Regions from separate parts of the Homo sapiens genome. Here regions 2 and 3 are each linked to region 1. Evidence: promoter capture Hi-C in 16 types of primary human blood cells and fetal thymus (Javierre and others, 2016). All regions are on one chromosome and are shown on one strand. The core of a region is centred on a gene start or on the middle of the fragment in contact, and the rest is flanking DNA. Distances in the headings are between cores, read along the strand shown.

What was found. The method cuts DNA at HindIII sites, captures the fragments that hold promoters and counts their contacts. A CHiCAGO score of 5 or more calls a contact.
Region 2: a contact is called between a fragment that was not itself captured here and the fragment with the promoter of FLNB-AS1 in region 1, in 2 of 17 cell types (M1 macrophages and megakaryocytes). The highest score is 7.4, in M1 macrophages.
Region 3: a fragment that was not itself captured here is called in contact with the fragment with the promoter of FLNB-AS1 in region 1 in 1 of 17 cell types (naive B cells); the score reaches 5.7 in naive B cells.

The regions. Positions count from the first base shown.
Region 1 is chr3:58,169,150-58,172,041 of GRCh38, forward strand. It overlaps FLNB-AS1 (FLNB antisense RNA 1), which reads right to left and starts at 1,486. Exons shown (of 2, transcript NR_135534.1): 1 at 1,348-1,486. FLNB (filamin B) reads left to right here. Exons shown (of 46, transcript NM_001457.4): 45 at 441-644; 46 at 1,426-2,892. The coding sequence ends at 1,613. It overlaps LOC124909485, which reads left to right and starts at 2,628. Exons shown (of 6, transcript XM_047449435.1): 1 at 2,628-2,724. The coding sequence starts at 2,628. The HindIII fragment of the contact is 5,353 bases long and covers 1-1,810 here.
Region 2 is chr3:57,888,735-57,891,514 of GRCh38, forward strand. SLMAP (sarcolemma associated protein) reads left to right here. Exons shown (of 25, transcript NM_001377540.1): 15 at 1,307-1,366. Among named protein-coding and RNA genes, the nearest start is that of FLNB, 120 kb to the right of the region's middle. The HindIII fragment of the contact is 170 bases long and covers 1,185-1,354 here.
Region 3 is chr3:58,510,294-58,513,070 of GRCh38, forward strand. All of the region lies in intron 13 of ACOX2 (acyl-CoA oxidase 2), which reads right to left. It also overlaps the pseudogene RPL27P9. Among named protein-coding and RNA genes, the nearest start is that of KCTD6, 20 kb to the left of the region's middle. The HindIII fragment of the contact is 226 bases long and covers 1,233-1,458 here.

The DNA.
Region 1 (2,892 bases), core at 236-2,735:
GTTCATCGCAGGAAAATTAGAAAATTCAGATAGAAAAATCATCCTTTCTCATCCACAGAATCATTTTTTGATATTTCATTATATGTCATCCCAAACTTTTACACTGCTTATACATAGACTATTTTATGTCAATAGAAAGATGTGAATTCCACAGGCACATCTTTGGTGGGTAGGGGGTGGGGGGATTGGGAGGGTCCTTGGCCTTGTCAGCCAAGGCCAGACTCATCCATTTGCCCAGAAAGCCAGATCCTAGTTGTATGGGGGTGGGATCCTAGGGGTTTAGAAGACATTATGGGTGTGAGATACAGGTGTGGTGGCTTTTGTGTTGGGGTGCGCGGGCTCTCCTGGGGTTACTGTGTAGGGTACTCGCCTGTCCTCTGGCTGAGAGACCCCTCTTGATCTGGCCATTCATGCCTGTCCCCCTCCCTCCTGTATCTTAGGCCAGCGTCTAGTTAGCCCTGGCTCAGCCAACGAGACCTCATCCATCCTGGTGGAGTCAGTGACCAGGTCGTCTACAGAGACCTGCTATAGCGCCATTCCCAAGGCATCCTCGGACGCCAGCAAGGTGACCTCTAAGGGGGCAGGGCTCTCAAAGGCCTTTGTGGGCCAGAAGAGTTCCTTCCTGGTGGACTGCAGCAAAGCTGGTAGGTGTCTGGGCCTTTTCAAGGGTGGGGTGGGGCAGGGGCAGGCTGGGCACCCTGGGTACACTGGCCTTCCCTGCTGAGGTCTCCTGCAGTGCCCACCCCCATGTAGGCCAGCCGTTTGCAAGTAACCATCGTCATGACCCTGTTCTCCTGCACTTAATATTTTTAAATGATTTCCTTCTCTTTTGCCTTTTGAACTTGGGTATTTATTTGGGTTTCAAGGGTCGGTTGCCTGGGTTCTGGCATCCAGTACACCTGGGCTGGAAACCTAGTACCGCCACTTCATTCATTCATTCGTTTGTTCTAAAACTTATTTAGCCATGTGACCTTGGAAAGTTATTAAATCTCTTTCCAAAAGTCAGTTTCCTCTTCTCGGAAGTACCTTCCTTAAGGTGCTTGTGAGAGTAAACAAGAAGATTCTCATAGCCAACACTTAGAATAGCCCTTACTGTGTGCTAGGTTTTGACACCCATAACTCTTAAACCTCACAACTAGTTCGTGAGGTATGTGCTGTTCTCATTCCCTGTTTACAGATGGGGAAGCTGAGCTAGGGAGAGGTGAGATTCCAGTCCAAGGTCACCCAGGTAGCAAGTGGCAGGGCAGGGATTCGAACCCACACCGTCAGGCTCTATGAGCCTCTGCTTGTAATTGCCACGCTCTCCCACCTCTTAGGGGCCCCAGCATTATCGTGGAAGCACCTTACCTTTGGCTCTCATATTTCCTCTTCTTCCTGTGCCTGTCCTGATGCATCCGGGTGGAGTAACCACCTTTTGCCTCCTAGGCTCCAACATGCTGCTGATCGGGGTCCATGGGCCCACCACCCCCTGCGAGGAGGTCTCCATGAAGCATGTAGGCAACCAGCAATACAACGTCACATACGTCGTCAAGGAGAGGGGCGATTATGTGCTGGCTGTGAAGTGGGGGGAGGAACACATCCCTGGCAGCCCTTTTCATGTCACAGTGCCTTAAAACAGTTTTCTCAAATCCTGGAGAGAGTTCTTGTGGTTGCTTTTGTTGCTTGTTTGTAATTCATTTTATACAAAGCCCTCCAGCCTGTTTGTGGGGCTGAAACCCCATCCCTAAAATATTGCTGTTGTAAAATGCCTTCAGAAATAAGTCCTAGACTGGACTCTTGAGGGACATATTGGAGAATCTTAAGAAATGCAAGCTTGTTCAGGGGGCTGAGAAGATCCTGAGTACACTAGGTGCAAACCAGAACTCTTGGTGGAACAGACCAGCCACTGCAGCAGACAGACCAGGAACACAATGAGACTGACATTTCAAAAAAACAAAACTGGCTAGCCTGAGCTGCTGGTTCACTCTTCAGCATTTATGAAACAAGGCTAGGGGAAGATGGGCAGAGAAAAAGGGGACACCTAGTTTGGTTGTCATTTGGCAAAGGAGATGACTTAAAATCCGCTTAATCTCTTCCAGTGTCCGTGTTAATGTATTTGGCTATTAGATCACTAGCACTGCTTTACCGCTCCTCATCGCCAACACCCCCATGCTCTGTGGCCTTCTTACACTTCTCAGAGGGCAGAGTGGCAGCCGGGCACCCTACAGAAACTCAGAGGGCAGAGTGGCAGCCAGGCCCACATGTCTCTCAAGTACCTGTCCCCTCGCTCTGGTGATTATTTCTTGCAGAATCACCACACGAGACCATCCCGGCAGTCATGGTTTTGCTTTAGTTTTCCAAGTCCGTTTCAGTCCCTTCCTTGGTCTGAAGAAATTCTGCAGTGGCGAGCAGTTTCCCACTTGCCAAAGATCCCTTTTAACCAACACTAGCCCTTGTTTTTAACACACGCTCCAGCCCTTCATCAGCCTGGGCAGTCTTACCAAAATGTTTAAAGTGATCTCAGAGGGGCCCATGGATTAACGCCCTCATCCCAAGGTCCGTCCCATGACATAACACTCCACACCCGCCCCAGCCAACTTCATGGGTCACTTTTTCTGGAAAATAATGATCTGTACAGACAGGACAGAATGAAACTCCTGCGGGTCTTTGGCCTGAAAGTTGGGAATGGTTGGGGGAGAGAAGGGCAGCAGCTTATTGGTGGTCTTTTCACCATTGGCAGAAACAGTGAGAGCTGTGTGGTGCAGAAATCCAGAAATGAGGTGTAGGGAATTTTGCCTGCCTTCCTGCAGACCTGAGCTGGCTTTGGAATGAGGTTAAAGTGTCAGGGACGTTGCCTGAGCCCAAATGTGTAGTGTGGTCTGGGCAGGCAGACCTTTAGGTTTTGCTGCTTAG
Region 2 (2,780 bases), core at 20-2,519, 280 kb before region 1:
AATCAATGTATTATTTAGAAATATAAATGTAAGTATCAGAAGAAATGGCTAAAAGTTGTAGGAAGTGAATTTTAGGAATGGAGTGAAGTAGGACAGAGGACAGGTAGGACAGCTTACATTATACATCTTAATCAAAATCTGTTACTTTCTGTTTTTTTTTCTTTTTTTCTGTTTTTTTTTGAGATGGAATCTCGCTCTGTCATACAGTGGCGCCATCTCTGCTCACTGCAAGCTCCGCCTCCTGGGTTCACACCATTCTCCTGCCTCAGCCTCCCGAGTAGCTGGGACTACAGGCACCCGCCACCATGCCCAGCTAATTTTTTGTGTTTCCAGTAGAGACAGGGTTTCATCATGTTAGCCAGGATGGTCTCTGTCTCCTGACCTCGTGATCCACCCGCCTTGGCCTCCCAAAGTGCTGGGATTACAGGCGTGAGCCACTGCGCACGGCCCCTCTTTCTGATTTTAAAAAGTCAGAGACAAAGTGCCACATACTGCAAAGAGCCTATGAGAAATGAAAATTAAGAAAAGGAGCCATGGGCATTGGGAGACTAGAGGCTATAATGATATTGGAGCAGTTTCAATGGTTGAGTGGTGGATGTAGACCAAGTTGCAGTTGGTTGTAAAGCAAGAGAATAGAAAATTTTCTTCACATATATTACAAATGAATAAATTGAAGGAGACCAACTGACATACAGGAGTAAATAAGGGGACACAGAATAGATATATCCTCTTCAATGAAACGTGGAATATGAAAATATGACTTTAAATTATAAAAAAGTAGCATTATACATTTACAGAAAATCCCCCATAAAACAAAACAAAATTTTTTTATTTCTTTGAATAGCTTTTCTAAAATGATTCATTTACTGAAATACATTATATAGGCATCTCTGCTGAATTATGTCAGCAGAGAACAGTAAACTATCGATATAACTTAATTTTTATTACTTCTTCATTTGAATAAATACCTTTTCATAAATCTTTTATTTTAACTTAATAGCCTTGATCTAAAGAGGATTGCTTTATTTCTTCTGAGCCCTTTTTATAAAAATATCTAGGCTTTTAAAATAAGGTGAAAATAAAAGGCAAATTGTCTGCCTGCCCCTAGTTTTCTGCATTAACGTGATTGCTCCGTCATAGTTCCAGTTCTCTTAGTTCCCCTTCCAGATTCAAGTTTTTATTCAAGCTTGGTCATAGGAGTAATGTTATCATCTTTAAATTTGGTCATGGAATGTGTTACACTGCCCAGCTCAGGGAAATGCTGCTCAGTTTGGGCTTGGATGGTAACGTTTATTTTCCTTGGCAGAGAAGCTGATCGTCGAAGGGCATCTAACCAAAGCGGTAGAAGAAACAAAGCTTTCAAAAGGTTTGTTTTCTGTTTTTCTATGTTTTTTGACAGTTCTTTTGGATAATGAAGGTTAGTGTATATTTTCAAGGTTATAGTATTTTAACCATCAGTTTACTTCTTATAGCTCACAAAATAGCAAGCCAGTAACAGTATCAGATAATATATAAAATAATCAGACTTCTGTTTTAAGAAGGGTATCGTAACTGGAATGTGTCTTTTTAAGTGGATGTATATTTATGGTTTTTTGAATGTTAGTACTTGATATAGGTTTCTTTAGGTATTAAAGATTTGTTGCAATCTCTGTCATTCCCAGCATTAATTTCAGCTTTGATCTCAAATTTTAATCAAACACAATGTAAGTCGTTTGTGATACAACTTAAGTGAAACATGCTTGCACTTCTATTTTGGGGGTTACAGTACCTTTAAAATCTCTTATGATGTTTAATATTTCCTTAATTTTTGGCATCTCAGTTTGATTTAAACAAAATTAATGACTTTTGTGAATGTAGAATCTTCTTATATTTTATGAGTAGTCCAGTAATTGCCCAAAGTAGTTTATTGTGTTAATTCTGTTACAGTTGTCAGAGAAGAAAAGTGAGTTTTAAAGCACCATATTGTCAAGTCACTTTTATACATAGGGAAATTAGGCAAATAAATTTGGTGGCATGTGTTTATCATAGTAGAACTTTCATTAGACTATACCAGTATAAAATTTAAAACTAGATTCACAGTCCTTTTGGCCAATTAAAACATTGAGTTACAAAAGTTTGAGATACTTAATTTTAGTACATTCTATTTTATTAAAGTAACTGGATTCATTTGACTTTTTTAACCATGTAAGAGGATGGTGTTATTTCAAATATCTCGTGGTTTCCATTCTGAATTTTGTGCACGGCAGATGCCATATTTGGGGAAAAAATGCATAGAATATGCATCATTAATATTGTTTTGGCAAACAGGCATTGAGTTTCAGAACAGTGAACTATTTTTAGTACATATGGCAATTTTTTTCACCTTATTAAAGTGAGATGAGAACAGACCTTAAAATAGCTTTTACCTCACCATCCAAATACCTATTCAGATTAGTTGGTTGAATAGCCAGCACTTTGAAGTAGAGCCTTAGGAAAAAAAAAAAAAATGCTTCTTTAATTAAAATATCTTGCTATCTTATCACTTATATTTAATGCATTCTAAATTAGAAAATATTTTCTTGAAATTATGTTTTATCATTATTGGAAAAGTTTTGTGCATTACTGATTTCCCTTTTTAATTTATTGTTTTTATCTTATTGATACATAATGTGCATATTTTCAGGATATGTTTTATAGTTTGATACATTTAATGTATAAAGATCAAATCAGGGTAATTAGAATATCATCACTTTAAATATTTATCTTTGTATGATTTCCTTTTAAACCTGGCTATAAACTGT
Region 3 (2,777 bases), core at 96-2,595, 340 kb after region 1:
ATTCCTTATCCAGCTGAAATTCCATGTTCTATTACTCTCTCAAAAATACATTCAACAGGCCGGGCGCGATGGCTCACACCTGTAATCCCAGCAATTTGGGAGACCGAGGCAGATGGATCAGCTGAGGTCAGGAGTTCGAGACCAGCCTGGCCAACATGGCGGAACCCTGTCTCTACTAAAAATACAAAAATTAGCCAGGTGTGGTGGTGTGTGCCTGTAGTCTCAGCTACTGGGAAGGCTGAGGTGGGAGAATCGCTTGAACCTGGGAGTCAGAGGTTGCAGTGAGCTGAGATCGTGCCGCTGCACTCCAGCTTGGGCAACAGAGCAAGACTCCCGCTCAAAAAAAAAAAAAAAAAAAAAAAAAAAAAAAATATATATATATATATATATATATATATATATATATATATATATATACACACACACACACACACACACACACACACACTCAACGATTTTTCTTGCTTTGTCATACCTGTTTAGCAAAACGCATACCTCTTTGTCTTTAGTTTTCCACCCACTTTGTGCCACCACCTTTGTAACTATACATGGCTGGAAAAAACAATCATAACTGGTGTAATAAGGGCTCAAGTGGGCCCTGATTGCAGCTCAGCAATCGTATTACATTGCTATATTTACTCATTGTTCATTTACTGTTTCTTTTTCTTAGGCAGTTATTTCTTACCATCTCTTTGATCCTCAGATTGACACTATCCACCTTTCCCATCTCTTTTGCCTGGATGGCTTTACATCGTATTTCACTAATGAAGTGGAAGCAGTAAGAGAATCTGTGTAAGTTCCCACCCTTGCATTTATACATACAATGCTTTCTCTCTTCAGGCTCTCAGCTCAGGCCTCAGTCCCTCCTTGTCTACTAGATGTCTTTTCCTCTTGCATACTGGAGAACAACATTCTCCTGCCTTTCTCCAACAACATCAAAATTCCCCTCAGGGGTAAAAAGTTAGTGGAAATGCCCTTCTTTCTTTTTACTGTAGGCCTGGCTGGTTGCTGTCAAAATGGGCAAGTTCATGAAAAAGTGGGAAAGTGGTGCTGGTCCTGGCTGGATGCTACTCTGGACGCAAAGCCATTATCATGAAGGACATTGATGATGGCACCTCAGTCCATTCTTACAGTCATGCTTTGGTAGCTGGAATTGACTGCTATCCTCACAAAGTGACAGCTGCCATAGGCAAGAAGATCTCCAAGAGGTCAAGGATCAAGTCTTTTGCAAAAGCTTATAACTGCAATCACCTCATGCCCACAAGGTACTCTGTAGATATCCTCTTGGACAAACTGTCATCAACAAGGATCTCCTCAAAGACCTTGCTCTTAAACACAAGGCGTGATGGGAGGCCAAGATCAAGTTCAAAGAAAGGTACAAGAAAAAAAAATCCCCTCTCTACTGGATCATTTCCATCAGTATACAAACAGACAATCATTTCTCCCATCTTAAACACAAGCTTTTGACTCTATTTCCTTCTCCATCACCTTGGCTCCCGTTTAGGACAAAACTCCCTGAAAGTGTTATGTGTGTTTATGCTTATGATTTCCAATTTTCACATTCTCTCCTGAACTGGATCTGTTCATGTTTTTACTCCCACCACTCCACAGAAATAGCTCTTGCCACGGTTACTTCCTTATTATCTTGCGAGGGTCTCAAGACTGAGTACTTGGACCTCTTCTCTTCATGCACTCCTTGTGATGTTCTTCTCAAGGCTTTAAATATCAACCATACGCCAATGACTTCCAAACTTATCCCTCCAGTGTCCCCTGCTTACCAACATCTGTACTTGGATTTCTGATAGGCTCTTCAAAAGTAATGTATCTGAACCCAAACTCCTTCCCGTCCACCCTGCCCAAACCTGGGCCTCCTGTAGTCTTCCGCATTTATAGTAAATGGCAGCTCTGCCCTTCTGACCAAAAACCTTGATTCTTCTCTTCTTTCTCACCATACATCTAATCTGTCAGCAAATCCTGTTCTGCCTTCAAGATATATTCAAACTTCAACCATTCCCACCACCTCCAGCACTGTCACTGCTCCAATCCACTATCATCACTCACTTGGATGATTGCATTAGCGATCCAGCTGATCTCCCTGCTTTTCACTCTTAGTTCTTAATATGGCAGCTGGAGCAAGCCTTTAAAAATACACATCAGATTCTTTTAGGTTGTGTCTATCCAATGCTCAAAACCCTCCCATTCTATCCCATGCTCAAAACCCTCGCATTCTCTTAAGTCTTTGCAATGATCTACCTTACCGTCTCTTCCCACCCCCTACTGTACTCCCTTAACTCTCTGCCCTCTGCCGTCATTTTCCACCGCAGTCATGCCATTCCTGCCCCTGTGGCCTCTTCTGTGTTCTCTGGATGGATATGCCAAGCACACTCTGGTCTCCAACATTTGTACTGTCATGCACTGCATAATGATGTTTTGGTCAATGATGGACCATGTATATGATGGCGGTCCCATGACATTATGATAGAGCTGAAAAATTCCTATTGCTTAGTGATTGATGTTAGAATTGGCTGCAGTATTCAGAACAGCAACATGCTTTGCAGGTGTGACTGTACGAGCAATAGGCTATACCATTTAGGCTTGTGTAAGTACACTCTGTGATGTTCACATGATGACAGACTCACCTGAAGACACATTTCTCAGAACGGATCCTCCAGTCATTAAGTGATGCATGACTGTACTTATGTTCTGCCTGTAATGCTCTTTCCCTAGCAGCCACAACAGCTTCTCCCTACCTTCTCCTCAGGTCTTTCCTTAAATGT